Linked DNA regions of Homo sapiens: regions 1, 3 and 4 are each linked to region 2. The links are contacts of gene promoters, found by promoter capture Hi-C in blood cells and fetal thymus (Javierre and others, 2016). All regions are on one chromosome and are shown on one strand. Each heading gives the region's core, a stretch centred on a gene start or on the middle of the fragment in contact. The rest is flanking DNA. Distances are from core to core; before and after follow the strand shown.

The links. Contacts are between HindIII fragments. The CHiCAGO score rates a contact against its expected background, and 5 or more counts as called.
Region 1: a contact is called between a fragment that was not itself captured here and the fragment with the promoter of FAR2-AS1 in region 2, in 2 of 17 cell types (naive B cells and M1 macrophages). The highest score is 5.7, in naive B cells.
Region 3: a contact is called between a fragment that was not itself captured here and the fragment with the promoter of FAR2-AS1 in region 2, in 1 of 17 cell types (naive CD8 T cells). The highest score is 5.3, in naive CD8 T cells.
Region 4: a fragment that was not itself captured here is called in contact with the fragment with the promoter of FAR2-AS1 in region 2 in 2 of 17 cell types (naive B cells and M1 macrophages); the score reaches 7.1 in naive B cells.

What each region holds. Positions count from the first base shown.
Region 1 is chr12:30,827,626-30,832,291 of GRCh38, reverse strand. No RefSeq gene overlaps it. Among named protein-coding and RNA genes, the nearest start is that of LINC00941, 34 kb to the right of the region's middle. The HindIII fragment of the contact is 412 bases long and covers 2,078-2,489 here.
Region 2 is chr12:29,316,280-29,320,387 of GRCh38, reverse strand. FAR2-AS1 (FAR2 antisense RNA 1) reads left to right here and starts at 2,540. Exons shown (of 7, transcript NR_103860.1): 1 at 2,540-2,680. It overlaps FAR2 (fatty acyl-CoA reductase 2), which reads right to left. Exons shown (of 12, transcript NM_001271783.2): 9 at 3,376-3,547. The HindIII fragment of the contact is 3,353 bases long and covers 790-4,108 here.
Region 3 is chr12:30,784,067-30,788,679 of GRCh38, reverse strand. No RefSeq gene overlaps it. Among named protein-coding and RNA genes, the nearest start is that of LINC00941, 9.3 kb to the left of the region's middle. RefSeq lists an enhancer at 2,690-3,191. The HindIII fragment of the contact is 1,444 bases long and covers 1,154-2,597 here.
Region 4 is chr12:30,845,581-30,850,259 of GRCh38, reverse strand. No RefSeq gene overlaps it. Among named protein-coding and RNA genes, the nearest start is that of LINC00941, 52 kb to the right of the region's middle. RefSeq lists an enhancer at 1,377-1,921. The HindIII fragment of the contact is 1,485 bases long and covers 995-2,479 here.

The sequences.
Region 1 (4,666 bases), core at 1,034-3,533, 1.5 Mb before region 2:
CACGAAGGTTTAGTCCCATCCCCTTGGTGCTGTCCTTGTGATAGTGGGTGACTTCTTGCAAGATCTGGCTGTTTAAAACCATGTGGCACCTCACTCTTTCTCTCTTGCTCCTGCTCTGGCCATGTGACATGTCTGCTCCCCCTTCATCTACTAACATGATTGTAAGTTTCCTGAGGCCTCCCTGGAAGCCAAGCAGATGTCAGCATCATGCTTCCTCTACAGCCCACAGAACTGTGAGCCAATGAAACCTCTCTTCTTTATAAATTACCCAGTCTTAGGTATCCCTTTATAGCAATACAAGGACAGACAAATACAGGTGGGTAGCCCCGAGAGAGCTCTGCCCCTCCCCTGTCTGAGTGTCTCAAAGCCAGGATCTTTTCCTGGTACCCTCAGGTGCTTGAGGATAAAGTGGCCCCCAGCATGCAGGGTCTATAGAAAGAAAGATGGAGGGAGGTACTGAGCTGAGCACTGCTAGGAAAAGGAAGAACACTTAGCTCACACCTCAAGAAGTTGTGACTAGGTGAGCAAAAGCCCCCATCCCAGTGGGGAAAGTGTTACCTCCCAAGGCACATCCTGGCATAGGAAGATCTGGAGCTCAGGTGGGATTCAGGCTCAGCAGGGCCTCAGGCTCACTATCCTTTGCTCAAAGACACTATCAGAAGAAGATATCAGGAACTTCTCAGCTGTGCCAAACAAAGGCCCAAAGGCCCAGCTGTCTACAATGGAGGGGAGGGACAGCCTTCTCTCTAGGGCCACACTGCCCTATATCGTATGGCCCAGGACCCTCCTTTCAAGTTGGTTCTTTGCATACTCAAAGCATCATCTCATCTGTTACTATATTTGTGACTCACAAGAAGCTTTTGAGTCAGGCAGGGCATGTGTTAACCCAATTTCATAGAAAGGGAAACTGAGGCATAGGGTGGGCTAAGTGATTTGGGCTAGAGTGAGTGGGGGTCAGAACTCAGATCTTCTTGGATCCAAATCAGACACCCTTCTCCCACGTAAAACCCTCACCCTAATCTTAACACTTTTGTGGCTCCATGGCTTCCTCAGTGATTTTAGGAGGAAAAAGGCCACAGCAAGTGTGTTGGTGTGCACATGTGCATGTGTGCCTGTGTGCTCGTGTGCATGCCTGCATGTGTATGTGATGCCTTACTTGCTGAGGGAAGGGCAGGAGGGTTGGCAGTCTCTGATTTTTTGTCTGGATCTCGGACATTTTACGTGCCACTCCTGAGACAGCCAGAGACCTGTAGTGTGTCAGGACAAGGGGTCTCAGGAGGAGACATGTGAAGTAAGGGTGAGTGAAGACCCTGAGTCCCACAGGGAGTCCAGCCTGTTCCCCACAGAGATGTGAGCTCTGCAGTCCTCTGCCCAGGCCAGCCAAGGTTTGGGGAAGGGTCTGGGGGAGGCAGGGGCAGATCCATGGAATTTCTCCTCTGGACATGATTTTGGGAAGAAGAGGAGATCAAATATTATAAAACATCTGCACAGCATGTGGCATCTCATTAGGGGGATGGGACCACACCCATATCTCTCTCTCTCTCTCTCTCTCACACACACACACACACACACACACACACACACACACACACACACGACTCCCTTTTTTAGCTTGGCCTTTCCTCACCAGGAAAACTTTCAAGCATTCTTTTTAGGCTGTAACCAATAGTCATCAATATGTTTTCCAGTGAGACTCAGTGCACACATCCATATATTAACAATTAACAAATTTTTTATGCAAAGCCTTATAATAAAGTCCCAGAAAAGGACACTGTTGGCAAATCTAGGGCTGAGATTTTTGTTCTTGCTGGAATTTTTGGAGTAGAGTGTTTAAACTGCAGACCTAGATCCATTAGGAGGTCGTGACATCAATTTGGTCAGCCCTTTAAAAGAATTGCACAGTGTAGCACAATAGGAAATATCAGAGTGCATCAAAAGTCACAAATGTTAGTATTATGTGGTGAAACATTTGGTTCATTGCCAATATGTGTGTGTATCTAGAAAGTCTCCTTGTAAAATGCCTTGATGACAGTGGGTTACATTAAAAAACATTAAAGACACACTGTTTTTAGAAGCTTTCCTGAAAGTACTTTATATTGAGGAAGGACTAGCTTTTTAGGCTTGTGAAGAAAGGAAAGGTGTGGCTGGAGGTGAAGGGAGGGAGGCCCCGGGCCCCTCAGGGGGTTGGGGGGAAAGGCTCCAGACAAGCTAGCACAGCATGTGGCTTCCTGGGGTCCAGAGCTTTCTGGTCCAGAATTGGGTTGGAGGAGTAGCAGAAGTGTCTCCTGTCCCCCTGATGAAGAAAGAAGAATCTAGTGAATAAGGAAAAGCATGGAAATAGTAGAGACAAGGAGCTCTTGACAAATCCATCAACCACCCTGTGCCTTCATGTCCCCATCAGCAAAATAGGATGGTGGGGGTGATAGACCTTCATGTTCCTGACAAAATGAAACACAGTCAACACAAAACCAAAAGAAACATTGGAAGCTTCTTAAGAGATGACATTCCCTAAATTGATTTTTGGGGAATACAAACTCATGCACAACCACCTATCCTAGAAGTCAGGAAAAGTGTATGCTTTAACCCATTTTGGCTCTTCTTGAGTGCCTGGTGCATGCAGGCACTCTGATAGGTTGTGAATAAACCAGTCCCCATACTCAAGGAGGTTTTCCAAACTAGTTAGGAAGCTAAGAGGGTCTCAGAAGAGGAAGATAACATGGAGAGCTCTAACTAATTGCCCACAGGGTGGTACAAACCCTGAGGGGTACAGCCATTCAGAGAAGGTTGAGGGCAGGATGAGCTTAACATGTACGATGCACAAGGTCAAACAGCTGGAAGTGCAAGAGTAGGGGTGACTTGTCTAAGAGGAAATATAATAGGGAGGGCTTGACTAGTTGAGAATGAGAGCAAGGCTTGGAGGCATAAGAATGTGAGGTCTCACTCAACAAAGGCTGTTGCACGTCTGTAAAGACTCAAAGTCACTGTGCCAGGAACAAGGGTGGATTCACAGAAGATCAAGGCAGCAGTGTCTCTCCTCAGGGTGGGGGTTGCACCAGGGACCAGCAAGTTGATGGCTTCATCTGCAAAAGGAGGTTAAAAGGCAACTGTGCCTCTCAGACTGCAGGCCGACACACTAGGGATTGTGAAATCAATATTTTAATGAATGAGAACAGACTGAAGTAGACTAGAACTTACCAGTGTGCAATGTATTCACACTGGAAATTTAGCTGCACAATAATCCATCCACCGACATGGAGAAATGACCCAAGAAACTGCCAGCAACATGGTCAAGAGTAGAGAATGGCATCCAAGGAAAACATGTCAGGGAGATTCCCTGGACGGAATACCTCTTGGCCTGGCTGGCTCCAGCTGAGATACTGAAATGCAAGATTCCATTAGGTGCATCCGTGCGTGATGGGAATGTGTCAAATATATTCTCACTGTGAGTCACCATCAAAAGACCTGGATGCCATTGACTTAATACCTCCCAAGATTCCTTACAGTGCATCTAGTTGCTGACTGAATGATTGTATGCTTGTTGTAGGCAGCTGCTTATGTGCCCTTGGTGATGAAGAGGTTGGCAGGGCAGGGAGAAATGGGGGGTGGCTGATAAGTCTGGGTTAAAGTTGGAGAGCAGCTGTGGCACATAGCAGCAACACATGCAAACACAGGAGCCGAGGCCTTTCCCTGAAAGAACCTAAAGGGCCTAGAATGTTTTCAACTCTCTTGACACCTTTGACCTGAGACTGCCTTCACTGTCCTAAATCTGAAATGCAAGTTCATAGGACAGGCTGTGGATGAGGAGCTGGAAACTCCCAACCAGCAGGTCTGGAGACATCTGTGATGCCGGGGGCACGGTGGAATTTCCTGGGAGGGAAATGCATCAACCTGTATGTAAGCACAATATGGGGGGGCAGGGGGAGGATCTCTTCACTAAGGAAAAGAGCAAACTGCTTTCTGGGGGTGGCAGCTGTCCCTACGCAGTGGCATTTCTCAGCCTCCAGGAACGAGCCCCAAGAGTTCTGTGTTCCAGGCTCTCCTACCGGGGTGATGAAAATCAACAATTGACACCCCCAGAAGAGGACAAGAGAGACATCTGGCAATCCCTGAAGACGGGCTCCCTCTGCTCTGCCTCACTATTAAACACACACATTGCTCTCCAGATGTGGCCAGTGGTCCCCTCTGAGGGGACACCGGTCAGTGCTGAGGGTTGATTGAGAGATCATGGAAACCTGACTCAAACAACCTCCCCAAAGTGGGCTGGGCAGATTTTCAAAGTGGCGAAACAGAATTCCAAAGGCAGGATGTGCCCAGATGGGCCTTGGACATATGCTGCACAGTATGTCTCAGAGATAAGGTGACAGGGTGGAGAAAGGAGGTGTGCCTGGGGCCACAGACATTGCTCCTCACGCCCCAGCTGGGTGTGAGCCGTCTCAGGCTAGCATGCTCTTTCCCTGCCCTGTTCCTGGTTCTCTGGCTGGCTTTGCAGGTCAAAGGGCCTCCTTCTACCTGGAATGTCTGAAGTGACAGAAGAATTTAGGGGGACACATCTCCCAGAAGACGGTCCTGCCCTGCGTCTACTTGACCCTCTGGTGGCTCATACATTTGGACAGGCTGCCAGCCACCACCCAGCAGGATAGATGGTCCCCAGGATGAGGGACAAATC
Region 2 (4,108 bases), core at 1,291-3,790:
ATCTTTAGTCATTCTCCAACTCTGATGCAATTGATATGATTTCAATACATTTATTTTAATTGTTAAAAATAACGGTTGGACATGATATCATTGGATGTACAGAACTATATCAACCTAATGATATGTTTTAGAAAATATACTTGTATTACTCCCAGATAGAGAAGGTCTTTATTGTTTGTCTGAGACAGGGTCTCGCTTTATTGCCCAGGCTGTAGTGCAGTGGCTCAATCATGACTCACTGCAGCCTTGACCTCCTGGGTTCAAGCAATCTTCTGCCTCAGACTCCTGAGTAGCTGGGACTACAGGCACATGCCACCATGCCTGGACAACGTTTTTAAATTTTATTTTTGTAGTGATGGGGTCTCACTATGTTGCCTAGTCTGGTCTTGAAGTCCTGGGCTTAAGTGATACTCCTTCCTCAGCCTCCAAAATTGCTGGGGTTACAGGTGTGAGCCACCACACCCAGCCAAGAAGGTCTTCTTAATACCCAAAATGCAAAAGCTGAAGGAAAACAATGATTGATTCATTTTACCACATAAAAATTTTAAACATCTTTAGTATTAATAGGGATTATTATATTCTAAGCACTCATATTAAACTATATAAAATAGGTTACGATTACTGTGCCCATTTTACAGAATAGGAAGTTAGGATTTAGAGAGATGAAGTAATTTAGGGCTCTAATGGCTAAATTGGTGAAGCCAGGATTTAAATCCTATAAGCCTGACTCCAAACTCCATGTTCCTAAGCCCTGCATTATATGTATCTTCACTCATATTACAAAAAGCTTTATAGTCAAAGCTAAAAAGAAACAGACCTGGAGAAAATATATGAAATATGTATTCACACACACATGTTCCCATACATTAATAAGGACAACCCAATAGGAAAATAGGGAGCAGAAGCAGGCAGCACACAGAGGGGAAAACTTAAATGTCCAATAAATGAATGAAAGTCCAGCCCCTCCAGCAATCATGAATGCAAATCAAAAAAACAAAAAGATGTCATTCCTTATGAGTTTGACAATTCAGAAGTTGATTTTTACAAAGTATTCTTACCCCCATTAAGAGGGTAAGACATACTGTTTTGTACCCCTTGGCCGGGCGCGGTGGCTCATGCCTGTAATCCCAGCACTTTGGGAGGCCGAGGCGGGTGACTTGCTTGAGGTCAGGAGTTCGAGACCAGCCTGGTCAAGATCGTGAAACCCCATCTCTGCTAAAAATACAAAAATTAGCCAGGCACAGTGGCGGGCGCCTGTAATCCCAGCTACTCGAGAGGCTGAGGCAGGAGAATCGCTTGAACCCAGGAGGCAGAGGTTGCAGTGCGCTGAGATCTCGCCACTGCACTCTAGCCTAGGTGACAAAGCAAGACTCCATCTCAAAAAAAAAAGAAAAAAGAAAAAGAAAAAAAAAAGACTTTTGTACCCTTCATACACTGTTGTGGTAGTGCCAATTGACAGTCTCTTCCTTAGGGAGGGTCACCTGGCACTAGTCACAAACTCCACATACTCTTCAATCCAGCAGTCTCCCTCCTCAGCATCCTCTCCTGACACAGGCACATTCTACAAAGAGGCATGCACACTGATATTCATTGCCCTATTTGCAGTAGAAAAAAAAGACAACACCGGGCAGAATGACTTAGATTTTCATGGAAAATTAGTGGAAAAAGTTGTAAAATATGTACAATTGATTTATATACACACATACCCCCCTACTGCAAAGCAAACTATGTACGTCCATATATGGATGTAAAAGCATAGGAGAGTATACACAAGCACACCTGGAGCAGGAAAGGGTCTAGAAGGATTTCAGCTTTTTCTGCCATAAAGATTATTGCTAAAATACATACCACACAACAAACCAACCCATTTCCCACAAATATTACTGTTTGACTTCTCACAAGATACATATAGATTTTTATTGTGTCTCTTCCTTCTGTGTTTCTCTTTTTTCCTAACTGAACTTTGTTCTTTATGCAGGCCCTCTTCCAATCCTGATATATTTTAAAACCTTTAGCATTTCTGCCTACAATATTTGGGTTTTCTTCTTTTCCTGTCTTTATTTAATAAGCCCCATACAAATATTTTCCCCATAATCACAATGTTTCCTTTTCACCTTGCTCAAGAACTGAGTTATGAGCTCCAAATGAGGTCTTTAAAAATTTAGATAAACTCTACATTGGCTAAGTTTTAGTCATTTGCACTGCTAATAAAGATGACAAACACGCTGAAGAAGACTTCCTCCCTTATAAAGGGGCTAGCACAGAAGGCAATACTGTTCATACTTCTGATTCTTGATCACGAGAATTGCCTTAGGCAATTATAACAATGACTCCTCTGACACATAATATTATTCAAGCGAGACAGATAAAGGCGTATGTCCTGTGTCACACAGCTAGGTGGTGACAGCTGCCTTAGCATCAGCACACTGTGTTCCCTCTAATTTCTTCACTCATCTCTAGGTGGCAGTAAATCTGGTTCCGAATACTGACTTTGAGACTCGGCTTTCTCCACATCCTTCCTGTCACTTCCTTTGAGACTAATTCAGATTCTTTCCTTAGCTTCTATTTCCCCATTTGTAAAATTGGGATGATGAGGACATCTTCCTTGGGTAGCTGTGACAATGAAAATGGGATCATCATGCATCAGCCTTAGCCCCACGAGTGCCACAGTAAACTCTCAGTAAGTGAGGTTGTCATCATTATTGTATATTTAAGATTATCTACCTATTCAGAAAACCCTAGTGACAGAGTCTCAATTGCTTTTCTTTTCGCATGAATGATTACTTGCTGAATTCATCAACCTCTTTAACATTTACCTTCCTTTATTGTGCTGGAACATTTTTAATGTCTTTTGTGGCTTCTCACTATGACTGCTTTGTTCAAAACTTATACAGGTCGAGTATCCTTTATGTGAAATACTTGGGCCAGAAGTGTTTTGGGTTTTGATTGTTTTCAGATTTTGGAATATTTGCATATATGTAATGAGCTATCTTGGGGATGGGACCCATGTCTAAACACAAAATTCATTTCTGTTTCATACACACTTAGCCATATACACAGAGCCTGAAGGTAATCTTACATAATATTTTAAATAATTTTATGTATGAAACAGTTTTGAATGTCTTTTGACTGTGACCCATCACATGAGGTAAGGTATGTGGAATTTTCCACTTGTGGCATCATGTCAGCACTCAAAACGTTTTGGATTTTGGAGAATTTCAGATTTTGGATTTTCAGATTAGGTGTGTTCAATCTGTATATATGGGTAAGATTCAGTTGTCTCCTTTAATCCTCGGCTGAAGGAAGCACTAAAGATTTTGGGGCCTTAATCTCCCATGCAGTGACACTCTCAAAGCCATTGACTCAGCTTCTCACCTGGGCTTCCTTCCAGTGAGCCGCAGATAGCAGTCATAGATAATGGCAGGGGCCCGGTGGCTGACCGCATTCCAGTACTGTGATGTGAAGCTGTTGCTGGTAAAATTAGCATTTGGCCTCCTGAAAGGTCTCTCAAATGGGATTTTTTCAAAGGTTGCCAAGACTTGGACTCCTGGGGAAAAAAGAAAGTAAGTGCTAGAGGAGAAAAGGAGAATATAAGTCCATCATAGTGGAAAGCATTTGTAATGGGTCAAAACAATAAAGACGAAGGATTTGCTGTGTAGAGTCAAGAATCAATTTCTGAGAACAATATAAAGATTTTTGTGCTGGGCAAATGGTTATCTGCAAACTGAAACAGTGTGAATGGGTTAATAATTGGATTCTTTAGTTGAAGCATTTACTGTAAAACAAACTATTGGGGAAACACTTGTCAATACAAGGAGGTACTGTTCAGAAAAACATGAATCTGCCTTTAATTCTAAGGTCATCCAGTCTATTCTGAAAGCCCCAAGACAGAGGCGAGAGACCTTATTTCCCTGGCTGGACCATTACTTTCAGAACCATTTAGAAAGTTTCTTAACATTTTATTTGAATCTTTATTAAAGGTTTAAGTAAAAGATTGTAAAGATTCTCAAGGCAAGATTTCTTTGTGTTAGTCTACTTCAAATACTTCTCTGGGAATATGTTAGACTCAATTGTCCACTCTGGTATCCAGAGTTTTATTCATAATAGT
Region 3 (4,613 bases), core at 626-3,125, 1.5 Mb before region 2:
AGAAAATGATATGATGGAAGGAATTTAGTTTGTAGTTTAACTTTAAAGCAAGGATAATAGGATGCTAGTTCCTTCCCAAAACTAACCTCCAAGGAGGTAAGGAGTGTGTACATACAAGGAACAATGTTATTTTAAAGATTTATGGGATCCTAGCTTTCACTCGGTATATGAAAAAATAAAATAATAATAAGAAATATATAATTAAAGATTTATAGGAGCATTGTGACCTGACCAAGGACAAAGAAGTTTTCCAACTCCCTCTCAGATGCTCTCTGCTGCCCAGATGCCTATAACCATCAGTCACCTCTTGAACTCCATCTCCTTCTACCCTCTTCCCTTAACAATAAAGGGACCGGAAATGCACATTGCCTTAAGACAGTTCTTTAGGACATTAGTCCATCATCTTCTCGGTTGAGCAGATAAACTGAGTTATTGCCCTCTTGCCCCAACACCTTGTCTCGTGACTTATTGACTGTCCTGCAGTGAGCAATACCAGCTTAGACTCCACTACATTATCTTGTAGTATTCATCTGTTCCCTTACTTTTGACAAGTGTTTACTGACTACCAACTATGTGTAAGGAAAGTGCTAGATCCTAGGGAATATATTTTTAGCTCTCTGGATACAGAAGATGAAATTTAGTTTGAGAAGTTATTGAACAACTTGTTCAAAACATCTACTTAACTGTCATCTATTTCAACTTGAACTGCCTTTCTATTAAATGTACCACTATTAAATGTTGTGATGGTACTAGAAAATCAGCAATTTGTAAAGCATTTGCACAAATTCTAACAAGGCTTACCACTTCGGCTTTTTCTATTATCTACTTAGCAATCAAAGCAACGCCTTAATTTAACGTATGATATTGAAAATAATTTTACAATATTTCCAATTAAGTTAATTTTCACATTGCTTTTGTGCTCTTTGTCATCACATGGAGAATGATGAATTCTATTTTACATTTCATTAGTGAACATAAGGTGTGTTTTTCCATTTGGGTCACTATTAGCTCTCTATTATCTAATTTCAAAAATACTGAGTTCAGTACCCAATCTACAAATTATACAGTAACCACTTCTCTAAATGAACCACAATTTAGAGTTAAGCTCACAAGCCATTTCTTCATTTGTGCAAATGTGTAACAAGCCAAAGCTTAATGGTTCATTTCAGTTAAGTAGGTTGCACAAAATTTAGAAGTTTGTTAGTAAGAAATGTGACCTAGAACCATTATGGAAATGAAGAAAAGATGAAATTACACAGTTTAGACCCATATTATCCAACTCCTAATTTAGTCAGAGATTATTGAAGTGACAACTCTCCTTTTTATGAAATAAAATACTTGAAAAAATAAGAACATTGTTCTGCTTTTAATCTCTGCTAAATAGACAGTTAGTTACCAGGAGAAATATGTTGTAAAAACCAGCCTATGAAGAATATCAGGAAAGAAAGTAATGTTACCTGGAAAATCTAACCTACTAAATTTTGATAAGCATATGAGCCACCAATCTAGTTACATTGCCAGGAAATTCTGATAAAAGGCAACTATTAATTTCTAAAGGATAAATCTGACAGAATCTCAGGATAATTCCATTTGGACTCCTTATTTTTTATTATTATTATTATCTTTTTTTTTTTTTTTAAATTTATTTATTTTTTTTTTTGAGACGGAGTCTCGCTCTGTCGCCCAGGCTGGAGTGCAGTGGCGGGATCTCGGCTCACTGCAAGCTCCGCCTCCCGGGTTCACGCCATTCTCCTGCCTCAGCCTCCCAAGTAGCTGGGACTACAGGCGCCCGCCACTACGCCCGGCTAATTTTTTTGTATTTTTAGTAGAGACGGGGTTTCACCGTTTTAGCCGGGATGGTCTCGATCTCTTGACCTCGTGATCCACCCGCCTCGGCCTCCCAAAGTGGGACTCCTTATTTTTTTTTAAGTTTTTGTGCTATTGCTATGGAAATATTCTGATGATTTACATGGTTGTGCTAGAGTTTTTTAATTTGTCTATTAGAATTGTGAGAACTTCCTTTACAAAAGTGCTCATTTTTATGTAGCTAAGAGACCAGTACAGATCTTCTCCAAAGAATATCATCATCACAAATTAAATAAAAACTTAGCATACAAAAGGATTCACATTTTACTGCTGAAAGTGCCTCCGGATCTAAATCAGCCCATCAATCAAGGCTTTCTTAGACACTGACTAAATGTTTAGCATAATCCTGAGTACTCTGGGGCTGTGGAACTCTGCATCTGCTGAACGCCAGGATCTAATGGGGAGCTTTATCAAATAAACAGGTTCCCGGTGGCTCCACTTCTGAAGATTCAAATTGGTGGCTTCTGGCATGAGGCTCTTGGGAATCTGGTTTTTTTGTTTGTTTGTTTGTTTTTCTTTTTTTGTCTTGTTTTGTTTTTAACATCACAGGTGATTCTGATGATTAGTCAGGACTGGGAACCATACCTGCTGTGGTTCCCAAAATCTGGTCCCTGGACCCACATTATCTGCATCACCTAGCAACTTATTAGAAATGCAAATTCTCAGGGCTGTGAATGGAAAATAAAAATCTCGGGACCCCGAACTCACTATGCCAAAGGGAAAGTGAAGCTTGGGAACTGAGTCACACAAAAGCAATCAAACTGCCTTCCTTTTTGTTCCCAACCAAATAGCTGCAAAATAGAAGGTCACATATCTTCCCAGGGGTCCTCCCTCACAAATTGCTCACAAGGAAATTCCTCGTGGACTCCACATCTTTCAGAATACATATCCCTCCTATAAACTTGCCCTAAAATAGAGTGCTGTTGAATCTTACCCTGACAATGCAAATTAACAGCTTATTTTCACAGGTAAGGGCCAAACATAAGACTAGAAATTCCTCCACCCACCCCAAACAAATGCATAATTGAGTTCTTCCTCTACTCTATGCTTACTTTATCTTATGTAAAATGTAGATATACGCAGCATGAGAAGAATGCATAATTGACTTTAACCCCACCACTCTCTTTTCACATGTAAAATGTGGATTCAGTGAGTAGTTTTTAAGGGCTAATAGAAGCCTCACAAGAATGTAAACATGTTACTGCCTACACCCAGCCTCTTTTTTTTTCTCCTTCCTCTTCTACCTGCTCTTTCCTCTTTAAATATTGAAGTCCTCAAAACCCTCTTTGGAAAAAGTACAGGCCGCAGATTCTACTGTAACTTGTGTTTCTTTTTCCCTGGCCACATCCTCAACCTTGGCAAAACAAACCTCTAACTCGATTGAGATCTGCCTCAGCCACTTTTTGGTTCACAGGCTCTATTCAGACCCACTAAATCATAGACTCTTGAAGTAGGGATTAACAATCTCTGTTTTATCAAGCCCTCCAGGTGATTTTTATGTTTGATACAGTTAAAGAATCATTTCAGATTTTTAATCTACTGAGCTTAATGACCTTTTCTTCATATGAAGATTGATGTCAAAGTTCTTTCTTTCTTTGCTGCAGAGCTAAGGAAATAGGACTTACTTTTTTCTCTTCGATTACCTAGCCAGCCACTATACCCTTCAGGGTTCTCTTATTCTTAATATGCCTGAAAAAGTGTGGAGAGGAAATAGCTTTCTCAACTTCCCACTTCCTTGCTGCTTGGGAAGACAAGAATATATGTAGACAGGCCCTTCTGCTTCCAAGGAAAATAGGAAGGAGATAACAAATGATAACCAATATGAAGATGTGTCAGAAGTTCTGGAATTTTAAAATGACTTTCTGCCCTGGTCTTGTACCCCCGGTTTTTATTCCTGATTATGGAGCTCACACCCTCCCCACTTTCTCACTCCTCCTTTAGCAAACCCTTATGACTCTTCACACCAATTCAAGGTCTAAAAAGAAAATACAGCCAGCCAGAGATGGCCTCTTTCAGCATAAATTTTATTTTTACTTGTTAATGGAAATCTCCCTAAAACAAAATTGTAAGAGTTAAAGAAACAGGAAAGAGACACGAAATGTGGTTTGACAGTAAAGACAGGTTTACTTTTGATAAAACCTGAGAGGGGCTTCTGGCTGACTTTGGTTAGGAGCACTTTCTCTTACAGACTAAGAGAACATATTGGTTTTAGGGTAAGGGGGCTTATTAGAAGCTTGGAATGTTTCTGTGTGAGGGACAAGTTTTATGGTGGGGTTGGAATGTCTCTGGGAGGAGGGGAGTTTATCTTGGGGCAGACATCTTTCTGGCTTGGAGTGGGGTTATCTCGGAGCTGGCATCTTCCTGGCTGGCGGGGGGTTATCTCGGGGCTGGCAAGTCTCTGATTGGGGAGGAGTTTGGAATGTTTCTGGTTGGAGATGTTATTTGTGGTTATTGTGGTTTATGCTGACCTTAGCCATTAGGCTGATACCCTTTGGATTTAGGCGTTTTTTTTTTATTAAGGTGAACTTTAGAATGAGGGGCTTGTCCAAGATGGTGATGCTCCTGCTCTGTCAAAAATTTGTTTACTGTCATCTGGATTTTTGTTGATGGATCATTTAGTATTATTACAATGAACATTAACTGTTATATACTGCAACAAACAATGATGTCATGGACTTTAAAGACTGAAGATGTGTTTAGCCATTAAATGATCTAAGATGTCTAGGATTTTATTTCTTATATTTATA
Region 4 (4,679 bases), core at 488-2,987, 1.5 Mb before region 2:
CTAACTGCTGTCAGGGGGTGTTGGATGGCGATTCTTTCTGGCTACTTCCTGCTGAAAAGGGGTATTGTGTGGGGAACAGCAGTTGTGCCTTCTCCTGAGGTTTATCTAAGGGTTCTTGGAAGAATGGCGTGACCATGTGTAAAAAGTAAAGTAGAGGTTCCTCTTCAAAGACTTTCCGCCCCGTCTAATAAGAAATAAATAGTAACTTCTCTTAAAAGCAAAATTTATTCAAAGACCTGTGCTAACATTCTTAAATATCTGCTAGCCATAATAAAGAAATCAATGTAATTTATGTTCTTAGCTCCCACAATTTAGCCTAAATATTTGCCCTGGCATGCTTATACTGGTCCAAGCAAGCATTAGATCATAGTCTGTTCCTCTTCCTTATTTAAAAGTGTTTTTACCTTTCCCAGCATTCCACAAGTTACTTCCTCCTTCTTTTGTTCTCCTCTACCTTTGCCTCTTTTAAAAAGTTCTAAGTTGCTAGCCAATCGGGACAAATACAGAATGTGAGGTCCCATTCCAGCTATTGGAAACTGGACACAGCAGTAGGGTGGACGCGTCAGGTTATAAATGACCCTGTCTCCTTTGTTCAGTGTACTCTCCTGGCAAAACTGCTGGCGAGTGTACCCTTTCTGCAAGAAGTAAAAATGGCCTTACTAAATAAACTGATGCTCAAGTGCTATTTCTTTACAAGCATTTCAAACACGTGTGGCTTTGCTCGCAGCACCGTTTGGAGTTTGATTGCTTCCAGGTGAAAAGAGATAAATTTTATAAGAAAATTTAAAATATAGGGTTAGAATGTGAGTATTAAGATTACCACCGTGAGTGGGGGTCCTATAGACCCTGAGTTTCATACCTATTAGTTACACCATGGATTGCAATACCAGTATCTCGCTGTACATTACCAGAAACATTAATATAAAAGAAACATTTTCCTTGAGAAAACCATACATTTCCCCTTTGACTTGCCATTAGAGAATAACTTTAAGCTTAGGCCATTTTCCTAACTTGCAATATGCTTGGGAGAAATACATTAGTGGGTGGCTAAAATAACTTTAATGTTAATCTTGACAATTCCTTTCCTTTAATAATTTCATGACTTTCACAGACCCTCTTACAACATACTTAAACTTTCTGACTTGCCCTAAGCATTCATCCTTTAAACAACCAGTCATTTCCTTTTAGGACAAGTATTTACCAATGAAAATCTTTTCTTACATAAAATCTTCCTTTATAATCTTCTCTTTATAGCTTAGAGCACATTATATTACCAACCTTCAGAAAAAGTCCTATTAAACGTAATGATAGTAAAACTTTCATCCTTGCTTCTTATCCACAACTATTACTCCTGCTATAAGCGACACAATTTTGACTAAATCTTTCCTGCAACTATCAATCCTGTTATAAGGTTGATAATTAGGCAAAATATTACAGCAATTAGAATTTTACAACCAGAATTCCACATCTTGGGTGCTACAGTGTGTAGTTCTATTGTAAATAGTAGCGTGAGTATAACAGTTCTTACAAGAGTGGCATAGTGAATAATTTCCATTTAAAACTTTACTTACCAAGATATAACATTTCTCTTTGGGGAGCTACAAAGTTACAAATGCGATTCTATGAATAATTAAAATCTGCCTGCAAATATGCTTTAAAAAGAAGTTTTAATATTTGGTGGTGAACTTTGAGAGTAAAGGGTAGAAATAGCAAAAAGTATCTGGTGAGGCAGGAGTGGGACTGAGTAAGATGAGTAGCCCTCACTCAGTTACTTATCTTTTATGATTTTCAGCTTAAAATCTTCTCTTTCTGGCCCGGCGCGGTGGCTCGCGCCTGTAATCCCAGCACTTTGGGAGGCCAAGGCGGGCGGATCACGAGGTCAGGAGATCGAGACCATCCTGGCTAACACGGTGAAACCCCGTCTGTACTAAAAATACAAAAAAAAAAATTAGCCGGGCGTGGTGATGGGCGCCTGTGGTCCCAGGTACTCCGGAGGCTGAGGCAGGAGAATGGCGTGAACCGTGGGGCGGAGCCTGCAGTGAGCGGAGATCGCGCCACTGCACTCCAGCCTGGGCGACAGGGAGCCTCCGTCTCAAAAACAACAACAACAACAAGAACAACAACAACAACAACAAGAAAAAGAAAAAGATCTCTTTCTCCGCATTGATATTCAGGATATTTCTCTGGGCTGTTAGGGGCTGCTCCCTCAGCTCTTCAGGCTTTGACTTGAGTGTGATGTATTTAGAAGTCGATTCCTGTAACTTTTACTGCCGAGGGGGTTGAAAGAAGAACAGTGTAGGGCCCTTCCCAGCTTGGCTTAGGGAAGGAGACAGAGATGAGAGTTTGTACTAATACCAAATTTCCTGGGTTAAATAAAGGTGATCCTATTTTATTTCTGTAGGGGAATACTGATGTTTAATTTCTTTTTTGGAGCCTTCCTAGATTAGAAGGGCTTGAAGTGCATTAATGCCTTAAAGCTTCCTTGCCTCTGACTTAGCTTTGCCTGATTAGCCATTCTATTTCCTTTGGCTACCTTATCTGTTTCCTTTTGATGTCCCCTATAACGCATGACTGCTATTTTTTGTGGAAGAAAAACTGAGGATAATAACCTGCCAATTTCCTGGCAATATTTTATAGGAGATTCATTAGTGGTAAGAAAATGCCTTTCCTTTTGAATCGCAGCATGAGTATGGAGAGTTAAGAAAGCATACTTGGAGTTAGTATAAATGGCAGCTACCTTCCCCTTGCTTAATTTAAGTGCTCTTGTAAGAGCTATTAGCTCAGCTAATTCAGCACTTGTGCCTGGGGAGAGACGTTAAGAGTGACGACTGCTTATCCTGCCTTATGTACTTCTTGCTTTACCAGCTGTTTGTTAGCTAAGAGCTCCCCCTAGAGGACAGTAATCCTCACACATTATGTGAAGTGTAAACAGTTAAATTATTTCCTAGGGTTAACTTGGAGGCTTTTCTGACTAGTAGAGTTATTATGACTTGGAAGCATGTGTAAATAGGTCCTCCTAACTACAACTATGGTTGAGAAAAATATTGGATTAGAGTTTTTCCTGAGACACCCCTTACGGTCGTACTATGGGAAGAGGAGAGGCCTGGATTAGAGAGGAGAAAAGGGAGAGACTGGCTCTAATGTTTAGAAGGAGGTCTACTTTCCTTCCTTTAATTTCCAGAATTAGCCGGGGCTCCTGTGCTATAATGGCAGTTTGAGCCACTGAAGCCAGGGTTTGAGCCCCAGGACCCATCAGTCCTGCGGGACCATCTGTGAGACTGGTCCTGAACCCAGTGGCCTCCATCTCTGGGGGCAGTTCCATCTTCAGTGGTCTCTGCCACAGCCTGGACAGGGTTGAGGTGGCTTTGTCTTGCTTCCTGGGGGTTCCTTTTTAAAATGCCCTGGGCTGCCGCACCAATAGCAACTAGCGAATGCACCTTGGGGATCCTGGATTTTGCAAACCTGCAAAGCAGCTGCTAGAGCCTCTGTCCTTCTCTTGAGCTTTCTCTCTTTCTTTTGGGCCTCCTCCTGGTTCCTGTTACAAAAGACCAAAGTGGCTACCTTCAGGAGGTTCTCTAAGGTGCTATCTGGTCTTATAGCCTGCTTTTGTATTCCTTTTAATATCGGGAGCTGCCTGTGTAATAAACGTGTCCTTTAGAATGAGCTGTCCCTCGACTGAATCAGGGTATAAAGAGGTGTACTTTATTAGTGCCTCTCTTAGCCTTTCCGTAAAGGCTAGAGGATTCTCATCTGGCTTTTGGTTTATCCTAGACAGTTTAGCGTAATTGAGAGGTTTGGCCCTGGTCTTCCATAGGCCCTTTAATATACATCTTAAAATGTGCCTCCTTTTCCATTCATCTCTTGAGTTATTGGGGTCCCAATCGGGGTTGTTTACCAGAACTGCTTCCCTTCCTAGTGGGAAAGGAGTCTACACGATTTTTTCGCTTTCCCTATCTGCGTTCTTCCCTTTTGGTATATTATAGGAGATATATTGCTCATCCCCGAAATCTCTGCTGCTTGCAGAATTGCCTGCTTTTCAGCTGCTGTGAGGGTATGGTTTAGGAGCAGCATAACATCCCTCCATGTGAGGTGAAACACCTGAGTTAAATTTTGGAAAGCTTCTATATACCTATCAGTGTCGTTAGAAAATCGGCCTAAGTTTCGCTTTATTTGCTTAAGGTCTTGTAATGAGAAGGGAACTTGAAGGGGCCCAAAATAAGGGGGATCCTCAGATGGTTCCCCTGGAAGTTGCTTTTCTAATTTGGGGGAACTGTTCTCCCTGGGCCTGCCCGATGTGATTGCTAAAAGACCTGGGTTGATCTTAAAATGCTTGCACGGGTTTTGTAAAAACACCATGCCCTTGTGTAAAAGAAAATGAGTCACTTATTTCTTCAAAGTCCTGAGGTTAAGGAAGTTCCAGTGTTTCAGAGTGCACTCCAGCGGGTGCAAGCCAAAGATAATCTGTTTCCCATCTAGAAAAAGAAGCAAGAATAAAAGCGTCCTTTTAGTCTCCTCCCTTTCCGTATGACCCAGGGTGGAGGAGGAGACAGGGAGCATCCTCCCACTGTTTTCCCTCCCTGCTTCCCGGGTCCTGGCACCATGTTAAATATGCGACCCATGGCTGTAGGCGTGGTCCTCCAATCCATCCATGGTCCTCCATCCATGGAACTGGATGAACT